3 separate regions of the Homo sapiens genome follow, and regions 2 and 3 are each linked to region 1. Evidence: promoter capture Hi-C in 16 types of primary human blood cells and fetal thymus (Javierre and others, 2016). All regions are on one chromosome and are shown on one strand. Each heading gives the region's core, a stretch centred on a gene start or on the middle of the fragment in contact. The rest is flanking DNA. Distances are from core to core; before and after follow the strand shown.

What was found. The method cuts DNA at HindIII sites, captures the fragments that hold promoters and counts their contacts. A CHiCAGO score of 5 or more calls a contact.
Region 2: a fragment that was not itself captured here is called in contact with the fragment with the promoter of OSER1 in region 1 in 1 of 17 cell types (total B cells); the score reaches 5.2 in total B cells.
Region 3: the fragment with the promoter of PCIF1 here is called in contact with the fragment with the promoter of OSER1 in region 1 in 1 of 17 cell types (fetal thymus); the score reaches 6.0 in fetal thymus.

What each region holds. Positions count from the first base shown.
Region 1 is chr20:44,208,759-44,212,057 of GRCh38, reverse strand. OSER1 (oxidative stress responsive serine rich 1) reads left to right here and starts at 1,287. Exons shown (of 4, transcript NM_016470.8): 1 at 1,287-1,362. It overlaps OSER1-DT (OSER1 divergent transcript), which reads right to left and starts at 1,098. Exons shown (of 3, transcript NR_038339.2): 1 at 981-1,098. RefSeq lists silencers at 885-1,333, 1,529-1,598 and an enhancer at 1,258-1,877. The HindIII fragment of the contact is 3,146 bases long and covers 242-3,299 here.
Region 2 is chr20:45,372,889-45,376,566 of GRCh38, reverse strand. TP53TG5 (TP53 target 5) reads left to right here. Exons shown (of 5, transcript NM_014477.3): 4 at 1,015-1,528; 5 at 2,556-3,678. The coding sequence ends at 2,660. The region is part of intron 3 of SYS1-DBNDD2 (SYS1-DBNDD2 readthrough (NMD candidate)); the gene reads right to left. It also overlaps a transcript of SYS1 not described here. Among named protein-coding and RNA genes, the nearest start is that of TP53TG5, 3.6 kb to the left of the region's middle. RefSeq lists an enhancer at 3,165-3,224. The HindIII fragment of the contact is 5,473 bases long and covers 1-3,678 here.
Region 3 is chr20:45,932,626-45,935,932 of GRCh38, reverse strand. It overlaps PCIF1 (phosphorylated CTD interacting factor 1), which reads right to left and starts at 1,250. Exons shown (of 17, transcript NM_022104.4): 1 at 1,129-1,250. LOC107985388 (pre-mRNA-splicing factor cwc22-like) reads left to right here and starts at 862. Exons shown (of 1, transcript NR_171669.1): 1 at 862-2,439. RefSeq lists a silencer at 720-929 and enhancers at 558-1,248, 1,249-1,940, 2,200-2,349, 2,632-3,307. The HindIII fragment of the contact is 3,152 bases long and covers 1-2,130 here.

The sequences.
Region 1 (3,299 bases), core at 38-2,537:
TACAATAAATTGTTAGATTTCATTTACAGACATAGGCCAGGCATTCCAAAGCCTGGCTGTAGTTAAGCTGGACACAGTTAAACCATCTTCGGCAGCCTATCTAGTTGACTACAACTAAGGTATTGGGGAATGACGGTGGATGGGGCCAGTTTTGGTTCAGGGAAAAACCCTCACTCTAGGGGTGGGCCACAATCAACGCCATCCAACTCAATTGCGCAAAATCATCTGTTCTCACGAAGCTTTGAGCAGTGCAGACGTGGAGCTGGAGATTGGCAGGCGAGGAGAGGCACAGCTAGATCAGCAGAACCAGTCCTGGTGATGGAGCGGGTGGCAGCTGTTGCACAGATCACCTTTTCCCGCCTACCATCTGAGCAACATTCAGAATCAGAAAAATGTAAAGAATCCTAAAATTCATCTCCTTTGGTGAACTGCCTAAATCTTTTTGCAAAATTTGGTGTGTAGGTGCATTTCTTTGGCAAGAGGATCTACAGTTCTCACCAGATTCTCAAAGGAGTCTACGCCTGAAAACACGAGATTCACCGATAAGGTTCAACTTCCTCACTTACTAGATGGAAAACTGAGAGGCCCAAAGGAGGAAAAGCAGTTGCCTCAAGACAAACAGCAGAGATATCAAAACCGAAGGCATTTCAATTCAATTCTAATTCTGGCTTCACACTATTGACCCTGGCCACGTCCAATACCTCTTCACTTCTCTGCAGGACCTAAAAGATCACCAGGAGGCGAGGGCTGGTGTCCGAGTCCCGGAGAGGTCGCAGGCAGTCCAGATTCTAGCATCACAGAAACTCTGGCCAAGCGCTCAGCCGGGGATTGTCTGCCATAAAGACCCCCGCACCCTGTCCTCGCCCCCGCCCCGTGGAATTCCTCTGCATAGGTGACTCCACGTAGAGGACCGAGCGCAAGGAGATCCCGGGGCGGTGGAGGCAGAGGACTACTGTGAAGAATGACGCCTACTCACTCACCTAACAGAGAGGAGGAAGCAGGCACGCCCCAAAAGCGGGTCGGGAGCAAATCCACGCCACTGGGAGGAGGCAAACCGAAGAATAACAGGAAATTACGTAAGGCGCACGTGCTTCTGAGGGGGGCGGGTGCGGGGCGTTGGAGAGGCGCGGCCGCCGCCCTGCGTCTGCGCAGTCGTCGGCTGCCGCGCTGCCGAGTCACTGGGGTGGGAGGAGCATAAGCAGGGGGAGGGGTGCATGCCGGAGTGCGCAGGCGCAACGCGACTCCCGAGGCGCGGGCCGCCCCCTTGGCTGGTTTGGATCCGGGTCAGTCGGGTGCCGAGATTTGGGAGAGACGCTCTGAACTGACTGCCCCGCATCACCGGAGCGTCCCAGCTGCGAGGAGGTAAGTGCCCTGACGTGACGGGGAGGGGCCGCAGCACTGCGTCTCAGCTTCCACTGCCGGTCTGGCCGCGGGCGGTTTTCCCCGGGCCCGCCCGCCTTGGGTCGCGTCGTCTCCCGACGCCTCCTGCCTGGGCCGGGCCTGGGCCTCTCCGCGCCCCCTTATCTGCCGCGGCCTGTGCCTGCTGGAGCTCCGAGCTCCACGCTCTCTCCCCTTCCCGCCTTCCCGTCCTCCCGCGGTCCCCCGCCCCGTCTCGCTCCTCCGCCGTCTCCCGCCCAGCGGCAGCTTCCCCTTTTCGCCCTCCTTGGCCGCCCTTTGCCCCTTCCAGTCCTTTCTCTCTCGCCTCGGAGCCCCATTCTCTTTGGCTACCTCTTCGGCCCCACTCCTTTCTTCTCCCGCATCCCTTGTGCCTCGCTCCGACTCCAGCCTCTCGTTCTGACCCCAGGAATCTCCCGAGGAGCGCAACTTCACAGCTGGAGACCCCGGGCGGGCAGTGCCCCTGGACAGCTCCCTGCTTGGCGTTGTCCCCACACTCCAAGCCCCGTCCTACCCCTCTGGGTTCTGACTAGGAATTTTCCTCCGTTCATGTTTAACCGCGACAGGCACAGACTCTGGGTGAAAAGAAAGAACTTTGTGCTTTGGCTGCAGCGCTGCGAGTATAAAGGGATGAGTGGGTTGCACGGAGAGGTGTGAATGTGCTTTTTGTCCTGGGGGCCGATTGTTTCCTCCCGGTCTAGTTTGCCTCTTAGAGTTGCTGGGTTTGGTTTTCTTCCCCATACTCTACGCTTTCTGGTGGTCTGGGAGTTTCGAAATCTTTAATGTTGTGATGACAACGCTTACCCGCGCATCCCTTCTTGATCGTTCTTAGGTCTTCTCAGGGGCCTGGAAGTGTAGACCTAGGCTTGGGATTCAAGGAGGTCTTGGTTAAAACGGCAAGATGTAAATAAGATTGTGACGCATCCATTTTGTTGAAAGAAAAAACCAGGAATTTGGCCTTTTGATGGAGGAACTTAGAAGAACTTTGTAATTTTTGTAAGGTTGTGGAAAATCCGAGGCAAAGTTAAATTGCCTGGTGTGATTTGACTTTAACTTCGAATAGGCTTTTTAAAGTTTCATCTCTTTGGAGATTGTTCAACTTCACGAGTTCACTGCAGTGAAAACGCCAAGACTGTCTCCCACAAATTTAATATTAATGAAGAAAGGCAAGCCAATTATATCTGTTGTCCGGAGTTAGTTGTACAGCCCTTTCTTTGAATGGGGATCTGGGGATGCAGAGGAGCATAATGAGCCTTTTATAATTACAAACATGCTCTTCTCTAGCTCTTAAGGTTATGCCTAACGCTCATTTGCTCTTGGCTAAAATAACTGAGAAAAAAAGTGAGTAGTAAAAAAATGCTGGAAGTCTGAAAATGGTTTAGACAGAACTTCATTCCTGAAGTTTTAGTCTGTAGCCAGATTTTAATTCTGGCCTGTTTTGGTTTTTAGATGATAGATCTTTTAGTGTGTCAACAGGAATGTAAAGTTTGTATTAACATCTAGGGTGATCACCTGCCATGCTATTAAGTCAGCATGGTATAATTAAAAGTTACATATGTAGGTTCAGAGCCTCTTAGCACAGTGTTACATTGTAAGCTCTTGGAGGGCAGGAATGAGATTCTAGTCCTTACGGAAATGGAGTTTGGGCTTCTATCCCTAGCATTCATTCTAGTGCCATGCACGTGGTAGGAATTCTGTAAATATTTGTGAAAGAAATGAATTTCTGCCTGTAGGGTTCAGCAGTGTATACTTAAATGTGATGTGTACGTAAATGCTGACTGATTTCCAGAGAGGGCTAAAGAGGACTTGGGGGGCGGTCTGCGGGTTGGGGAGATTGGCTCAGATGATTTATGAACTCGGTAAGAGCTGAACATTGACTAACGGATCATAAGGTAATTGAGGAA
Region 2 (3,678 bases), core at 682-3,181, 1.2 Mb before region 1:
AGGCTCTGAGAGGTTAAATATCTTGCCCAAATCACACAGGTGGTAAGAGGCAGAAGCAGAATCTGAGCCCGTTTGTCTGAATCCAACACCTGTGCTCTGTAAGCCACTCTGTTTCACTGCCTTCTACTTCACAGAAATAGTAAGGATCCCAAGTTGTAAGGGTCCCGAGTCTGGCATAGAGCGAGGACTCAATCAGCGGGAGCCATTATTATCATCACAGTATTGCCATTATCTGCAGCCCAAGGCCTCATCTCTCTCCACGCCCTTGGCTAGGATGGTGTTGCCACTGGGGGTTTGCAGGGGGCCCAGTCTGTTACAGACACCCTTTGGGAAAGTCTCAGCATTTAATATTTCTGTCAAGGCCACCTTTCTGGGCTCCTCTTTCTGATTTGGCCTCTAGTCGCAGGCAATCAGGAAACATAGAGCTAGAAGGATCAGGATCATCTAGCCCCATCATTTTCCAACTTAAAAATTTTTTTTTTGTATGGAGACAGAGTCTCACCATGTTGCCCAGGCTGGTCTTGAACAGTTTTCCAACTTTATTAAAGCAGTGAAACCTCTGTTCAAATATCTATTTCCAAGCCCCAATTGTGTTGTTATGAGCTGGGGAGAGGTATCCTGCCCCAGTGGGTCAGGGGAGGTGACATTGAGACACCTCCTCAGAACCCTAAGGTTCTTGGAGCACAATTTAGAAAAACTACTGGACTGTTCACCCTCCCAGCTGAAGTCCAGAGAGACAGAACCCTAATCTAGTGGCAGATGATGTAGACAATATTCATTCTTAGGGGCCTTAACTACTAGTCATGGCTTTCACCTTCCCAATCTCTCACATCCCTCTGCTAGTGCTCATCACACCTCCTCACACCAGCACAAGGCCTCTGGGCAGTAGAGAAGTTTCTTTGCAGGCCCCTCTAGCCTTTCTTAACAGGCTCCCCTGAGCTGGCTACATAGCAACTGTCTCGGGAACCAGGGCCTCGGTCCTGCTGTGCTGACTGCCTTTCCTCTCCCTGCCAGGGAAAACAGTGCCTGCAATAAAACAAAACAAAATAATGAAGAGTTCCAGGAGATCGGGTGCTCCGAGAAGGAACTCAAGTCCAAGAAATTAGAGTCCACAGGGGACCCTAAGAAAAAAGAGTACAAGGAGTGGAAGTCCCAGGTGCAGTCAGGGATGAGGAACAAGGAGAAAACGTCATTGGCGGCAATGCCACGGAAAGAAAAGCATATAGAGCCTGAGGTTCCAAGGACATCGAGGGATGATAGCTTGAACCCTGGAGTCCAGGGGAGGCAACCACTCACCGAGGGCCCCCGAGTCATCTTCATTAAGCCCTACCGCAATAGAACTCCCATGGGGCACATGAAGCAGCTGGATGTAGCCGACCAGTGGATCTGGTTTGAGGGGCTGCCCACACGAATCCACCTCCCGGCGCCCAGGGTGATGTGCAGATCCTCCACCCTGCGTTGGGTCAAGCGCCGCTGCACCCGCTTCTGCTCCGCATCACTTGAAATGCCTATGTGGCATCCATACAAGGTGGGTGTGACAACAACACTGCCAGGCTAGGTGAGATGCAAGCCCCAAGCCAGGCCCAGAGCTGGGCCCCAGAGTCAGGGTTCAGGATCTGGAGTCTTGAGTGGTGTGTGGCTGGTAGTGCTGGGAGGCTCCGCCTTCATGTCCAGAGAGGGGGAAGCCTTAGACCAACATCATACAGAAGGGTAGTGACTAGGTTGAGGCGTCTCAGGATACAGCTAGGAGATGTGTGGAAGGAGGGGCACTGAAGTGAGCCATCTCACTGCCTGAAGGCCTTAGCAGAGGTGGAAACTGCTGTGGCTCTGAATCTCACAGTCAGAGGCCTACATAAGTGGGTTTAAGGATTTCCAAATGTGGGAGGGGGGAGATGGTCAAGTAGGGCTTTGCTGCATCCCATTCCCTCTAAGATCAATTCAACTCTCTATTTATGTTTGATTGATTCATGCCTCAAATAAGATTTACTCTGAACAGGCTAGGCATGGTGGCTCACGCCTGTAATCCCAGCACCTTGGGAGGTCGAGGCAGGAAGACTGCTTGAGGCCAGGAGTTCAAGACCATCCTGGGCAACATAATGAGACACTGTCTCTACAAAAAATTTAAAAATTAGCCAGATGTGGTGCCTTGCGCTTGTAGTATCAGCTACTCAGGAGGCTGAGGTCGGAGGATCGCTTAAGCCCAGGAGTCGAGGCTGCAGTGAGCTGTGACTTCGCCACTGCACTCCAGCCTGGGCAAGAGAGCAAGACCCTGTCTTAAAAAAAAAGAAAGGAAAAAAAGATTTACTCTGAGCAGAAAGTTCCTTAGCAAAAAAAGAAGAAAATACCGCAGCCCTTTCGTGGGAGAATGAAAGTCCCACGAAAGGAAGGGGGTGAGTGCCCACCGGGTCTAGCTTAAAGGGAGGCTTTTCCTTTTTAGCAAAGGCATTTCCAACCTACCAGACACCACAGCACCCTTGTCCCTGCGCCCGCTCCCCAAACGACCAGCGCCCCCTGGGGACAGTCTTAGCGCCTAACACCGAGGTTTCTGCTGGCAGGTTGATGTGACCTGGACGAGAGCCAGAGGTGCGAGCAGAGGGTGGAGATCGCGCCATCAGCTGAAGGGGAGGAATGGGTGGCGAAATTCACGAGTCTACAAATAAGATCTTCCATATGGCACCTAAGACGAATACTGCTTACTCTGCCTGTTTGTCTGGGGCTGGGAAGGATGAAGGAAAGAGGCCTTCGGTAGAGGGAGCCTGTGTCGCGACTTCAGGCTTCCCCCACCCCCACCCCGAGGCCCCTAAGGTCAGTCTAGAACCAAAGAAGCCAGCGAGCAGCACCCCTCCCCCACCTCCGCGAGCTAGTCTCCTGAGTGGCGCGCTCTGTGAAGTCAGGGCGCTCGTGTGCTTCCTGGGTGCAAAGTGCCTCACAATCGCCCCGCGAGCTCGCAAGAGGAAACCGCGGCGCGGAGGCAGCAAGTAACTTGCCCAGGCTCACTCAGCTAGAAAGTGGCAGGAGCAAGGGCTCCTGGTTGCTCCCCATTCCATTTTCCCAAGAAAGGGAAAAGGCGAAATGAGAGCCTGCTCAGAAGTCACGAGGCAGGCGGAATAGCCCCAGCACCCTGTAGGTCATGCGCGTGCATTGCGACCTGATTGTCAAAAATTGATTGTCAAAAACTGATTGCACTGTGGCTGGTGTCAAAAAGTGGATGTCAGCTGGGCCTCCAAATGTGTCCTGCCTTGGTCACAGATCACAGAAGGCACCGGATCAGGAGGGGGAGCTGGTACTGCATCTCTACTGCTCCAGGGTGACATGGCAGGTCCACCCTCAATCTGAAGACCTCAACCCCAAGCCCTGGTCGACCCCATCTGGCCGGGGTCACCCTCTGTCGGTAGGAGTCACAGGGTCCTAACCATGCCGTTGGGGAGAGGAAAGCCAAGGGAGCCCGAGTTTTCTCCGGACGAAGACCTCCATATTCCCCAGAGGCAGGCTGCATGGAGTGGGCGCCCTCGGGAGAGCAGTGGAGCCATCGAGGGGCACAGAGCTCTCCGGGATTGGGGGTCAGGGCAGCGATGCAGATAGATCTCCAGTTTGGGACAGAGGGAGAACGATTGGATGGACTCTCCCCCCCTCCCACCCCGCCCACTCACACACTCCTCCCCACCATTACTGGGCACC
Region 3 (3,307 bases), core at 1-2,500, 1.7 Mb before region 1:
ATACGCACAAGCGGCACAGCTTAGTGTGAGGCTAAATGGGGACACTGCAGTATTTCCAAAGCCAGCTGTGCATCAGAATCATCTTGGAGTTTGTAAAAAAAAAAAAAAAATCAGACTCCTGTGCCTCACTGCGCATCTCAGAAGCCAGAAATAAATACGGAGGTGAGGCACACAAGAATTTGTATTTTTAAAACGCACCGTAAGAGTGACTGGGAGACAGGATGACTCATTTTTTCACACTATTTGAAAAAATGTACCCATTTTTTGCAATTAAAACCATTTTTAATTTCCTATGTGACTTGAGCGCAGCAGGTCTGTGGCCGAAGTACCAGCCCCTGGGTTGGACAGACCCGGATTCCGGGCCCTTCTGCTTTCCGGCTTATAAACCGGAATCACTCGACCGTTATATGTAGAGTCCAGCATTGTACGCTCCCAGTAAGACATAACTGCTCTTAAGTTAACGTCTTTATTTATCCTGTGGCTTCCCGACCCCCACGCATACCGCAGTTTGAGAATTACCGCTGCTCAAGGATAAACAACTCTATCTGCGCAACCAGAAAAACCCACCAGAAGCCAGAGTCCGAGTCCGGGATTGGAGGCACGTGGGGCGGGACCATCTCCGCAATGTACCAATCAGAATTCTCCGGCCCAGTAGGGAGGAGTCAAAGGGCGAACAAAGTACGCAGGCGCGACGGCGCACGAAGGCGAGAGGCGAGCTCCAGCGCGCGCGCGCGCGCGCACCTTCCCCTCCCCCTACCCCAGCGAGGGTGGGCTGTTTGGCGCGCGCGCGCGCGCCGGCCCATCTCTCGGGCTCCGCCCCCCGCCCCGCCGCGCGCTCCCGCCCCCGGGCTGAGGCGACTCAGAGTCGGAGCCCGACACAAAGGCGGTGGCGGCGGCAGCAGCGGAGGGGCCCTAGAGCCCGCTCCGCTGGGGCTCTCCGGGCCCACCTCCCTCACTTCGGCCACCGGCGCGGCCGCCCACCCGCGGGTCTAAGATGGCGGCGGCAACAGAGACAGGGCAAGCGGCAGTCCCGAGCAGAAAGCGCCGGAGGGGCCGCCGCCCCCCAGCTTCGGATCCCCAGACCCTGGCGCGGCTCGCTGCGGGACCATGGCTTCCTGGGACTCTTACCTGCCCGGAGCGGACTGGAGGGGACGCGGCTACACGTTCTGCTCGACCGCCCGTTTTGCCGCCTCCGCCTCGCCCTCCCCAGCGCCGCTGCCGCCATCTTGTGTCCCGGGCCGGGACTCCGCGCTGCGCATGCGCTGGTACCGCCTCTGAGGGACCTCGCCGCGGCCGCGCCGCCATCTTGAGTGTGGCAGGGTCGGCTGGCTCCTCGCACCCAGCTTGCTTTCGGCCCCCTCCCCTTCTTCCCATCCGTCCCTGCTGTTCCTTGTGGCGCTGAGGAAGGGGAGACAGCTTTGTAGGCCTGCGGGTGGACTGAGGAAGGAATGAATTCACTGGCACGTCCCCGCCTCAGTTTCCCCCTCGAGCACACACGCAGGAGCCGGATGTTCGCGGTGGGCGGTGCGCGGCGGGGTTGGACTGAGCGTGCGCACTGGGGGGCGTGGGGGCTGTCTTAGAACCTGCGGGGGTCTCGGGTTCTGCCGCCGGCCCAGGGGAGGCATCGTGGTGACGTAGGCTCCGGACGTAGCAAGGACCTGGGTCCTGGCACCCGCGCGGCTCTGCCTCTTCCAGCCAGTCTCTTTCCCTCTCTGGGCCTTTGTGCTGCGTGGTGTCCAAATGTTAAGAAGCCCTGCCCCATGCCCGGGCTACATATACATCGAACCCAAGCTGTAAATGCTCTTGAGTAGAAGCAACTTAAACTAGCCTTCGGGGGCAAGTAATAGAGATGGCTTTCGGCAGAGTTGGGAAATCAACTAAATGCATTGTAGGGCCTTTCCAACATTGACATCTGTGGCCATTAGTTGCAGTTCAAAGCCTCACTGAGCCCTCAAACCAGCTACAGCGGGTAGCCTGGCAGGGAACTGGCAGCTGTGAGGTGCTCCTCATCCGGCTCCCTGCAGGATTCTTTTTGGTAGGAGCCTGCAGGCGTCCGAGTGGTAGCTCCACCCATCTCCGGTCTCCCCAGCAAGCATCCCTTCCAGTGCTAGCTTGAGAAGAGGAAAAGCTTGCCACCTGCTGTCAGACCGGCGCTTGTGTGGAGCCAGGGGCTGTAGGTACCCCGGCTGAGTAGCCTCTCAGATGTCCATGGTCCTGGCTGCACGCCAGCGTGGGGGCAGGCAGGCGGACGCTCAAGAAAAACGGAGGCACCGATATGAGTAGTAATTGAGAACGAGGGTTCATGATCCTCATCTGATTTCAATCCCTGCTCCTCCACCCAAAATGTGTGGCCTTGAAGGAGTTAACCAATTTAAATTTTAGTTTCCTCAGTGGAAGATAATAAATCCGCCTACCTCATAAAGGTTTGGTGAGAATTAACTCAGGTGATGCATGTGAAGTCCTCAGCGCAATACCTGGCGCTTCCTAAGTGCTGAATCGGTTAGCCGTGATCATCTCACAGTGGCATGAGCATTGCTCCAAGTAGATTTGAGCCCTCCAGAAATAAGCCAGCTCTATATAGGCACAGCAGTTCTGCCCTCGCAGAGCTTCTCGTTCAGATAAGAGGCCTGATGGGAAACCAGACTCCTGGGTCCTGTCTCAGTTCTGGAAGGGTGGGGGGCCAGCTTTGATTTATGCCTGCTGCCCTGGCATAATTACTAATATTGCCTCCTTTTTCAGAAGTGCCCTGCTTTGGGCCGGGCGTGGTGGCTCACCCCGGTAATCCCAGCACTTTGGGAGGCCGACGCAGGTGGACCACCTGAGGTCAGGAATTCAAGACCAGCCTGGCCAACACGGCGAAACCCCGTCTCTACTAAAATTACAAACATGAGCCAGGCCTGGTGGCGCGCGCCTGTAATCCCAGCTACTCGGGAGGCTGAGGCAGGAGAATCACATGATCCCGGGAGGCAGAGGTTGCAGTGAGTCGAGATCGCGCCACTGCACTCCAGCCTGGGCGACAGAGTGAGACTCCTGTCTCAAAAAAAAGTACTGCTTTGGGCAGTAAACTACGTGGTCGCTCTTGACCTACGGGATAACCAGTTTTCCATGCTCATGCCCCCCAGCTAGCCCGCGCTTTCACTAAAGTTTAAAAACCATGTAGTGATTATTACCCTTTTTTTTTTTTGAGACGAAATCTCGCACTGTCGCCCGGGCTGGATTGCAGTGGCGCGATCTCGGCTCACTACAACCTCTGCCTCCCGGGTTCAAGCAATTCTCCTGCCTCAGCCTCCCAAGTAGCTGGGATTAT